Regions from separate parts of the Homo sapiens genome. Here regions 1 and 2 are each linked to region 3. Evidence: promoter capture Hi-C in 16 types of primary human blood cells and fetal thymus (Javierre and others, 2016). All regions are on one chromosome and are shown on one strand. The core of a region is centred on a gene start or on the middle of the fragment in contact, and the rest is flanking DNA. Distances in the headings are between cores, read along the strand shown. Region 1 has its middle 6.8 kb from the start of FGF1. Region 2 has its middle 25 kb from the start of FGF1. Region 3 holds the start of RNF14 (ring finger protein 14).

Evidence for each region. Contacts are between HindIII fragments. The CHiCAGO score rates a contact against its expected background, and 5 or more counts as called.
Region 1: a contact is called between a fragment that was not itself captured here and the fragment with the promoter of RNF14 in region 3, in 1 of 17 cell types (total CD8 T cells). The highest score is 5.2, in total CD8 T cells.
Region 2: a contact is called between a fragment that was not itself captured here and the fragment with the promoter of RNF14 in region 3, in 2 of 17 cell types (fetal thymus and total CD4 T cells). The highest score is 5.7, in fetal thymus.

Annotation. Positions count from the first base shown.
Region 1 is chr5:142,691,215-142,694,611 of GRCh38, forward strand. It overlaps a transcript of FGF1 not described here. Among named protein-coding and RNA genes, the nearest start is that of FGF1, 6.8 kb to the left of the region's middle. The HindIII fragment of the contact is 823 bases long and covers 1,151-1,973 here.
Region 2 is chr5:142,709,270-142,712,742 of GRCh38, forward strand. No RefSeq gene overlaps it. Among named protein-coding and RNA genes, the nearest start is that of FGF1, 25 kb to the left of the region's middle. The HindIII fragment of the contact is 1,740 bases long and covers 707-2,446 here.
Region 3 is chr5:141,967,414-141,971,303 of GRCh38, forward strand. RNF14 (ring finger protein 14) reads left to right here and starts at 1,692. Exons shown (of 9, transcript NM_004290.5): 1 at 1,692-1,754; 2 at 3,291-3,464. It overlaps LOC124901095 (a long non-coding RNA gene), which reads right to left and starts at 2,367. Exons shown (of 3, transcript XR_007058977.1): 1 at 2,195-2,367. RefSeq lists a silencer at 1,475-1,614 and an enhancer at 1,725-1,874. The HindIII fragment of the contact is 2,297 bases long and covers 215-2,511 here.

The DNA.
Region 1 (3,397 bases), core at 312-2,811, 720 kb after region 3:
GTTCGAGACTAGCCTGGCCAACATGGTGAAACCCCGTCTCTACTAAAAATTACAAAAATTAGCCAGGCATGTTGGCTGGCGTCTGTAACCCCAGCTACTCAGGAGGCTGAGGCAGGAGAATCACTTGAACCCGGGAGGTGGAGGTTGCAGTGAGCCGAGATAGTGTCACTGCACTCCAGCCTGGGTGATAGAGTGAGACTCTGTCTCAAATAAAATAAAATAAAATAAAATAAAATAAAATAAAATAAAATAAAATAAAATAAAATAAATAAAATATTTACTTACTTGTTCTGTCTCCCCTACCACATACACTGGAATACAAATTCCACAAGGAGAGCAGGACTTTGTCTTCTCACTGTTATATACTCAGTACCGAGACCAGTGGTTCTCAAGCTCGAGTGTGCACTGGAATCACCTGGAGGATTTGTTAAAACACAGATTGCTGGGCTCCAACCTCAGAGTTTCTAATTCAGTAGATCTGGGGTGGGCCTACTGAAATAGAGTTTATATTTCTAATAAGTTTCTAACTGCTGCTACTGCTCCTGGTCCAGGGACTGCATTTTGAGAGCTACCAGTCTTGACGATGCCTGGCATATAGTGGGTGTTGCATATACATTTATTACATGAATGCATGAGCCTGCACATAGGATCTGCCACCTTCTTTGTAATGGCAGTTTTGTTTTCAGTTTATCATTTATTTATATTTATGGGACTATAGGCTGTGAACCTTGCCTCCTCAAAGTCTTTGTGACAGGAAGGCCCCAAGTTTTGTCAGCTAAAATTGTGCACTATCTCCATTGATTTGTCAATTGATGATTAAAAACCTAAAGTTTAGGCCAGGTGCAGTAGCTCATGCCTGTAATCCCAGCACTTTGAGAGGCTGAAGCAGGCAGATTGCTTGAGTCCAGGAGTTCAAGACCAGCCTGGGCAACATGATGAAACCCCTTCTCTACCAAAAAAAACCCCACAAAAATTAGCTGGGTGTGGTGGCATGTGCCTGTGGTCACAGCTACTTGGGAGGCTGAGGTGAGAGGATTGCTTGAGCCCAGAAGGCGCAGGTTGCAGTGAGCTGAGATCACGCCACTGCACTCCAGCCTGGATGACAGAGAAAGACCCTGTCTCAAAAAGAATAGCAGCAACAACAAACTAAAGCTTTATAGACCCAAGAGGAACCATTGAGAGACTTCTCATTCTTTGCCTCAGCAGAACATCAAACCAAAAGATGGTGCAACTCTCACTTGACATGTGACAGAGAACAGAGTGATCTCTCAGGCCTCCCCTGTAATGATTTAACAACTATCCTGTTGGTTTAGATTGGGTCTTGGTATATTGGAGTGTATGCAACATAACCCCAAGCAGGTTATGAAATATAGAAAGCCTACTGGTTTTCCTGAGTCACAAAACCTCTTGAAAATCTTGACAAGATCTATAGCTCTATTCCCCAGGACACACACACACACACGCACACACGCACACACACACACACACGCACAGACACACACACACACACAGTTTTACATTTAATTTCAGGAAGTTACAAGATGCCCCAGGCACACTTTAACCCCAAATTAAGAACTTCTGGTTTAATAATTGTCTAGCTATTTGGCAAAAACAAACAAACAAACAAACAAACAAACAAACAAACCCAATCTGGATCCCCAGTTTCTTATTTAAATTCCTGATGAATCCGAGGTTTAAGTGTAAAGAGACAAGCCTTAGAGGAAAACATTAGTTAATAAGATTTATAATCTTAGAATGGGAAACACTTTTGGAAGCATGATTTAAAACCCAGAAGTGAAAATAAAGTAGTGAGACTGATTCTAAAAAATCTAAAATGTCTGTCCAGGAAAGAGGAAAAAAACTCTCCTGGTTTAGACTCTAAGGAGAAATTAATTGATCCTATCTTTTCCATCTATCTTCTTCTCAGTGGAATTGTGTGAGTGACCTATGGCCAGGCTCTATGGGACAAGACAAGCTTCTCAGAGCTTACAGGGTGAGATCACATCCTTTGGCAAAGCCCTGTCGCGGGGTTAATTATTTCAATAGCAGTGGTTTGGGTTTTTTAAATTATTTATTTTTATTTTTTTATTTTTTGAGACAGAGTCTCACTCTGTCGCCCAGGCTGGAGTGCAGTGGAGTGATCTTGGCTCACTGCAACCTCCACCTCCCAGGATTCAAGCTATTCTCCTGCCTCAGCCTCCCGAGTAGCTGGGATTACAGGCGTGCGCCACCACACCCGGCTAATTTTTGTATTTTTAGTAGAGACAGGGTTTCACCATATTGGCCAGGCTGGTTTGGGTTTTTAAATGACTTTATTGAGATATACTTCACATACTCTGAAGTTCACCCATTTAAAATGTACAATTAAGTGGTTTTGGTATATTTACAAAGTTGTGCGGCCATCACAACTATAATTTTAGAATATTTTTGTCACCCCCCAAAGAAACCCCATATCCATTAGCAGTTCATTCCCCATTCCTCCCTCCTGCCAGGCCTAAGCAACCACTCATCTACTTTCTGTCTCTATAGATTTTCCTGTTCTGGCCGTTTCATATAAATGGAATCAAACAACATGAGCATTTTTCCTTTAGTGTGATGTCCTCAAGGTTCTTCTGTATTGGAGAACATATCAACATTTCTTTCCTTTTTATTGCTGAATAATATTTCATTGCATGGATACACCACATTTTATTTCTCTGTTCATCAGCTGATGAACATTTGGGGTGTTTCTTCTGTTTGGCTATTATTATACTGTTGTTATTCATGGGCAAGTTTTTGTGTGAACATGTGTTCATTTCTCTTGGGTCTAGCAGTGTTTTTTTTTTCTCTTAAAGATTTACCCGAAGAATTTATCTATATCTCTATCTATCTATAATCTATCTATCTATCTATCTATCTATCTATCTATCTATCTATCTATCTATGTCTATCTGCCTCTCTGTATATATGTATTCCCCCCCACCCTGCCCACCATCATAACCTCATGGAGAACCAAGCAGATTTGGGTTCTAAAGACCTCAGATCTCTTACATTCCTGGCCTGGGACCTTCTGTGCAAAGGTCACGACTCACTCTCACTATGCCTCAGTTGTGCTATCAATGGAAGGAAGGTGAGAACACCAGCTCTTTCACACTGCCACAGGATATTGTAAAGATAAAGAAAATGACGTAAATCAATAGGATCTGCTCTTTCCAAGATATGAAGCCATATGAATAGGCCAGTGTGCATCAAAGAAACAAGATACACTTGAACCAAAAGTTTTGCCAGCACAAAGATGACTGCATCAGCCGAGTCCAGTGGCTTGATGTGGGGGCACAGATGGTACAAGAAATCACCATCTCAAGATTTTGGTGTTCTTTGAGATCAGAATTTGGTTGCCTTCCAAATCCTGCCAAAC
Region 2 (3,473 bases), core at 327-2,826, 740 kb after region 3:
TCATGGGAGGAGGTCAGAATATCAACATTAGCAGGAGTTTGGAAGAAGTTGATTCTAACCCTCACGGATGACTTAGAGGAGTTCAAGACTTCACTAGAGGAAGTCACTGCGGAGGTGCTGGAAACAGAAAACTAGAATTAGAAGTGGAGCCTGAAAATGTGCCTGAATTGCTTCAATCTTGTAACGGTTAATACTGAGTGTTCACTTGATTGGATTGAAGGATGCAAAGTATTGTTCCTGGGTGTGTCTGTGTGAGCTTCCCTAGTTTTGAGGTTTTGGGACTTGGACTGGTTTCCTTGCTCCTCAGGTTGCAGATGGCCTATTGTGGCACTTCGCCTTGTGATCATGTGAGTCAGTACTCCTTAATAAACTCCCGTTCATTTATACATCTATCCTATAAGTTCTGCCTCTCTAGAGAACCCTAATACAAATTTCATGATAAAACTTGAACGAAAGAGGAGCTGCTTCTTATGGATGAGCAAAGAAAGTGATTTCTTGAGATGGACTCTACTCCTAGTAGAGATGCTGTGAACATTGTTGAAATGACAATAAAGGATTTAGAATATTCCGTAAACTTAGTTAATACAGAAGCAGCAGCATTTGAGAGGACTGACTCCACTTTTGAAAGAAGTTCTACTGTTATTAAATGCTACCAAATATGGTACAGAGAAATATTTTGTGAAAGGAAGAGTCCATTGACATGGCAAGCTTCATTACTGTCATATTTTAATAACTTGCCACAGCTACCTCAAACTTCAGCAACCACCAGTCTGATCAGTCAGTAACCATCAATATCGAGGCAAGACCTTCCACCAGGAAAAAGATTATAACTCACTGAAGGCTCAGACGATCATTACTATTTTTTTAGCAGCAAAGTATTTTTAATTGAGGTATGTACATTTTTAGACATAATGCTCTTGCACACTTACTAGACTACAGCATACTGTCAACATAACTTTTATAGGCACTGGGAACCAAAAATTTGTATGATTCACTTTGTTGCAATACTTGCCTTACTGCGGCAGTCTGGAACCAAACCCACAATATCTCCAAGGTCCACCTGCAAATGCAGGCAGTGGGCCAGGTATACATGCATACATATGCCTTATGTGAGGGGTGGGCACTGAGGTTAACTAGAAAGCATGAGCCTATTTTTGCCTTGTGGTAATAAGGGCCTCATATTGCCAAATTTTTCCATTTTTTTCAAAAGAAGTAGGAAAGGAAATGCAGGCTTTTAAAATGTGAAATCCCAATTTTCAATTGTTGGTTCAAAAAAAACTTAAATCTCAACTAGCCAAATAAAATGCATCTGGGGTCCACACCCAGCTACCCTATAGGATACTAATTTAAAATATCTGGACTATAGTCTATATTGATGAGAGAAGTGGGGTGAAACTTGGCATTCCCTTGCCATTAACTTCTAGCCTCCCAGTAGTCCAGGCTGCCTTGAATAAACACCAGACCATCATACAAAACAGAGTTTTTATCTTATTTATTTATTTATGAGTTGGGTGTCTTGCTGCATTACTCAGGATGGAGTGCAGTGGCACAATCATAGTTCACTGAGGCCACGAACTGCTGTGCTCAAGTGATCCTCTCACCTCAGCCTCCTGAGTAGCTGGGACTACAGGTGTATGCCACCACATAAGGCTAATTTTAATTTGTTTTTGAGAGACAGAGTCTTGCTATGTTGCCCAGGCTGGTCTTAAACTCCTGGCCTCAAGCAATCTTTCCACCTTGGCCTCTGAAAGTACTAGGATTATAGAAGTGAGCCGCTATGCTTGACCAAAACACAGTTTTTAAATCAATTTATGTCTTTACTGAAATCTCTTAAAGATGCCAAAGGGTGGGGTTTGGGTTCCATTCATAACACCAACATTTCTGAAGAATCCTCTTCTCTTGTCTCTTTCTCAAGTCCTCCTCATGACATCTGTGTTAGTCCGTTCTCACACTGCTATGAAGGACTGCCTGAGACTGGGTAATTTATAAAAGAAAGAGGTTTTAATTGACTCACAGTTCCACAGGGGTGGGAAGGCCTCAGGCGGAAGGGGAAGCAACCACATCCTTCTTCACATAGCGGCAGGAAGGAGAAGTGCCAAGCAAAGGGGAAAAGCCTTTCATAAACCCATCAGGTCTCATGAGAACTCAAGAAGAGCATGGGGATATGTGGAGGAAAAGTTAAATCTTAAATTTGAACTCAATTGAATGTGGACACAAACAATGGTCACCAAGTCCCAGAACAGGTTGCATGAGCCCCTTGAGGCGTTCATCCAGACGGTTTTGGAGAAATCTGTTCCTGTATGTTAGTTATTGAAAAACAACAAACAATCATAAAAACAAGTTGACCTTTTTGTGTTCCTTGAGTCCAGTCATGAAGGGCCCTCGTGACTGGGCCTCATGCCAAATAAGTCGTTACAAAAAGAACTAGGGTCCCATACCACGCCAAAGCTTCATGAGACCTCTCCTCATCTGTGCATGGATGAGCGGTCAACTCTGGAGCCCAGGCTGTTGCTTCCCTGTCTGGTGATGAATCCTCTATAGTCTGGTAAGTGTAGTGGCCGACTCTGGAGCCCAGGCTGTTGCTTCTGGTCTGGTGATGAATCCTCCATCGTCTGGTGAGTGTGTGTGTATATATATATAGTCTATATTGATGGGAGAAGTGGGGTGAAAGTTGGCATGCCCTTGCCATTAACTTCTAGCCTCCCAGTAGTCCAGGCTATATATATATATCTTCTCCCTTTTCCCCTTCCCATTGCAATTTGCTTGTATCATTTGCTTATTATATCTGCATTGCCATTTACATGGGATAAAGGTTGTTTACCCTTGAAGGTATTGCATGTGTGTCTTTTCTTTTCCCTTTGTGCATCTCCCTCATAGAAAAGAGTAACCGCCCCCATGATTCAATTGCCTACCACTGGGTCCCTCCCACAACACGTGGGGATTATAGGAACTACAATTCAAGATGAGATTTGGGTGGGGACACAGCCAAACCATATCAACAGCCCAGCAGCTACTTCAGTCCTCCTTAATTTATCTCTTGAATTCTCCCAAACCCAGCTCATCCCTGGCTTGTTTCTCTTATTCTTTCTCTCGCCTTCTGATCCATTCTGCTTTCGTTAGTATGTAACTCCCTGCCTTCTCTTAGGTAGACCCATCAACCCATCCTACCCATGGTACTGCACAATTCAGAATCCTTTCCCAAATTTTCCCTTATTATGCACAAGAAATACTCCAGGGCCAGGTGCAATGGCTCACGCCTGTAATCCCAGAACTTTGGAAGGCTGAGGCAGGAGGATCGCTTGAGCCCAAGAGTTCAAGGCTGTAGTTAGTGATGTTGGTGCCACTGCACTCCAGCCTAGGCAACACAACAAGACACTATCTCAATTAAAAGAAAAAAAAAGAAAAAAGAAAAAGAAATACTCCAGAACTTGGCTAGTGAAGACTAATTCCTCCTTCACAGGAAGGAAGTGGGG
Region 3 (3,890 bases), core at 442-2,941:
CTCATCACTCGAGTAGTATACACTGCACCCTATTTGTAGTCTTTTATCCTTCGTCCCCCTCTCATCCTTCCCCCTAAGTCCCCAAAGTCCATTGTATCATTCTTAAGAGCAGGCCACTTCTAAATCTGGGGCCCTTCTAAGTGCAGGGCCCTATGTGACTGCACGGGTTGCTGGCCCATGAATCTAATCCTGCCCGGGAGGCAATGGTGGTAAAAGCTTTAGAATCCTGTAGGCTTGGGTTAGAGTCTTAGCTCTGCAAGTTACTCTTTTGGAGGAAGAAATATATGAAAAAGCGGACACAGGAGCTTATTAGATTGTGAGGAGCACATTAGTTTGATGGGTCCCAGGAGAAGGAGCCAACATTTCTGTATTCCACTTAAGCGCTGAGAACGGTGCTTTGTACCTAAAAAAATTTTTTAATTAAGACATAATTCACATGCAATAAAATTAACTCTTCAAAAGTATACAATCCAGTGGTTTCTAGTACACTCACAAAGTTATACAACTATCACTGCTCTCTAATTCCACAATATTTTCATCACCCAAGAAACACCATATCTATTAGCGGTATCTATTAGCAGTCACTTCCCATTCCCTCCTGCCTTAGTTTCTGGCAACCACTAAACTACTTTTTGTCTCTATGGATTTGCCTATTCTGGACATTTCATATAAATTAAAAACAATATATGGCTTTTTGTGTTTGACTTTTTTTTTTTTTTTTTTGAGACGGAGTCTCGCTGTTACCTAGGCTGGAGTGCAGTGACTCACTGTAACCTCTGTCTCCTGGGTTCAAATGATTCTCCTGCCTCAGCCTCCCTAGTAGCTGGGACTACAGGTGCCCGCCACCATGCCCGGCTTATTTTTTGTATTTTTAGTAGAGACGGGGTTTCACCATGTTGGTCAGGCTGGTCTCGATCTCCTGACCTCGTGATCCACCCGCCTCGGCTTCCCAAAGTGCTAGGATTACAGGCGTGAGCCACCGCACCCGGCCTTCTAAGGGTTTTATAGTTTTAGTTCTTACATTTAGGTCGTTGATCCATATTTAGTTAATTTTTGCATATGGTGTGAGGAAGGAAGTGTATAATTTTAATTCCTGCTTAGCCTGACGATAATCATGTGACCCTTGGTAAGTTCTTGCACCTAAGTCTCAATTTCCTTATTTGTAAAGTGAGAATAACAAATGGTAGCTAAATCATAAGATTACAGTGAAGATAGAAAATTTACGTAGAGCATTTATCACACTGCTTGAAGCATCCTAACTACTCGATAAATGCGGTCGGTGTTACAGTTATAACATGAGCGATGAATGCGTGCTTCCACAGTGGAGTGCCAGAAAGACCGGCAGCATTTCTGAGAAGGTAAACGGGAGGAAGTAGGCTTGCTTAGTCCACTTGGAGAAGCAGGTCTGGGATTGTTGTGAGAGTCTCTGCCCTAGGTAGACCACTGCCTCATGATCCCCTCTAGAGATTGGTAAAAATTCGAATTCTCGGGCCCCATCAGAACTACTGAAAAGAGCCTCCTGTGAGCACAGGGCTCGCAGTAAGTGGGGGTGACGGTGGTCGCGCCGGCAGCGCCGCCTTGGGCCTGCGGGAGGCGCCCGAGAGGCAGGGGCGACCACGGCGGCTGCGCAGAGTCCTCCCTATGCCGGCGGTCGCGCCAGCGGGATCCGCCTGGCTCAGCTGACAGCTCCCGAGAACGGAAGAGGCGGCGCGCCGGTTGAGCAGGGCGTCTCTAGGCCTGGTCGGCTGGCGGCGGTGAGTGGGCCCCAGGCAAGGGCGGAGGGCGGAACTTTGGGGTTCGGCACTGCCGGGCGGCCGGAAGGTACGGTGGGGATAGCTCTCTGGGCGCGCGAGGCAGAGAAGGGGACCGGGCTGGGACTGTACACTGGGCCTCAGTCCCTCAAATCCGGGACCGGGCGTCCGCAGCTCGGCTGGCCGGGACTCCCTTCGGGACGCTGAGGAGGAAGGGGAAGGTGTGGGCCCTGCTCCTTCGGGACGCCCCAGGCTGGCCAGCAGCTCACACATCCGCATTGCGCCCTCTGATCCCAGCGTTGGGGCGGATAGCTAGCGTTGGGCCTGCCCCTGTTTTGGGGCAGTCGCCCAAACGACGCCGCACGCCTAGTGGCGAGCTGAACCCAGACTAGGACACCCGAAGACCAAATGGATAGAGTGAGAAGGAAATGGGGGTTAGCAACCTGAATTGAGGTACTGGATTCCAAGTGACAGCTTCACAAGCTGAAATCTTGTAGGGTAGGTCATGAGGAACTGTTGAAACTGCTTGGAGTAGAAGTTCTTAGCCCTGGCTGCATATTGGAATCACCTGGAGAACTTGGAAAACTACTGAGGCCTGAATTAATTGTTCTAGGGTGTGGCCTGGGTATTGAGATTTTAAAAAACAGCTCCTCAGAAGATTCTAATGTGCAGTCAGATGGAGAACACTAACCTAAAACCATAAACTGCATGAATGAATCTCTCATCCCATTTGCAAATGTTTTAACAGGAAGAAACAAAAAGCTTAATTCAATTAGCACCATATACTCCCACCTAGTAAAATAAGACAATGTGAAAGGACCTAATACAGTACATAGTAGGTGCTCAATTAATGTAAATTGATTCTGAATCTCATTCTTATCTCATTTGGGAGTTACACATCCGAGAATCTGGTTTTTAATTATGGTTTTGTATATAGTATTTTTGCATATAATTTTAGGGTGTTGATAGGATTCTCCGTAGCCCATCTATAGACCACACTCCCTTTTCCCCTCACCCCAGTGAAGAAGCCTAGCTCTAAAGCATTTAGAATAAAACTTAAAAGTTTGTGTTTGTGTACTCTTGTTTTGTTTAAGTATTTTTCTGTTACCAAAATTAACCTTGAGTGCCACTGGCAGGCTTAATTCATGAACAAGAGAGGAAAAACTGGAGGGGAGTGGCAAATGAAGGAATACAAGAAGCAGAAGAGGAAAGGAGAAAAAAACAAAACAAAAAACAAACTGAAGAGATTGTTTGTTATGGGGCATGGTGTCCTGTACTTTCATATGACCTTGGTGTTCCTCCTTAGCTCCTCCCATAGCTGAGGGCAGACAGATAAAAAGTCCTCAGTCATTGCTGGGGACATGCAAATACTCCTTTAACCACATGGCTCAGTTAGCCTGCCCTAGGAGAGTAACATGCACTTGTAGATTAGGATTGGCTATATGTTAGGATATGTTTGACTTAAGCAGTGATCATGGAAATTCAGAATTTTAATTTGGAGAGGGTCCTAACACCATCTTTTGTATTTCTTTTCTGCAGATGGCAGGATTTTCATAATATATGTAGTATGAGTTCCACATCTTGGCCTCTTACCCAGCTTCAGCAGTCTCAGCTCCACCAGTTAGAGAATAAATGGGATTTGCATGAACTCCACTCTGAGCTGAAATACAGACTGCGGTGTTAATATCCTTTTCTTCTGATTGTTATTAACAGGTACTAACTGACCTCAAGTAGAACATGTAATTGTGTCTTAGATAGGGATGCAGCTTAAGCAGAGCCATGAACTAACATCTCCTAGAAAAAAAGTGTTTTTTGAAAATGAAATCATTTTTAATTTCATAGTATGACCTTTTAAAATGTAAAAAATCCTAACTTTTTACTTATGTACATTTTAATTAAAAATATTTTAGTTGTGAGGGAGGATATTTGCAAATGCAATTGTAGTTCAATATTTTAATTGACTGGTAGTTTTGTTTTATTAAAATGATTTTTGTAAATTCTCATTGCATATTTTTTTCACATTTAAATTATCTGAAATTGCTGTATCTTTCAGTTGATGCTATTTTAAAAAACATTGATTCATACTTTATTTTTTGAGACAAGGTCTTGCTCTGTCCCCCAGGCTGGAGTGCAGTGGTG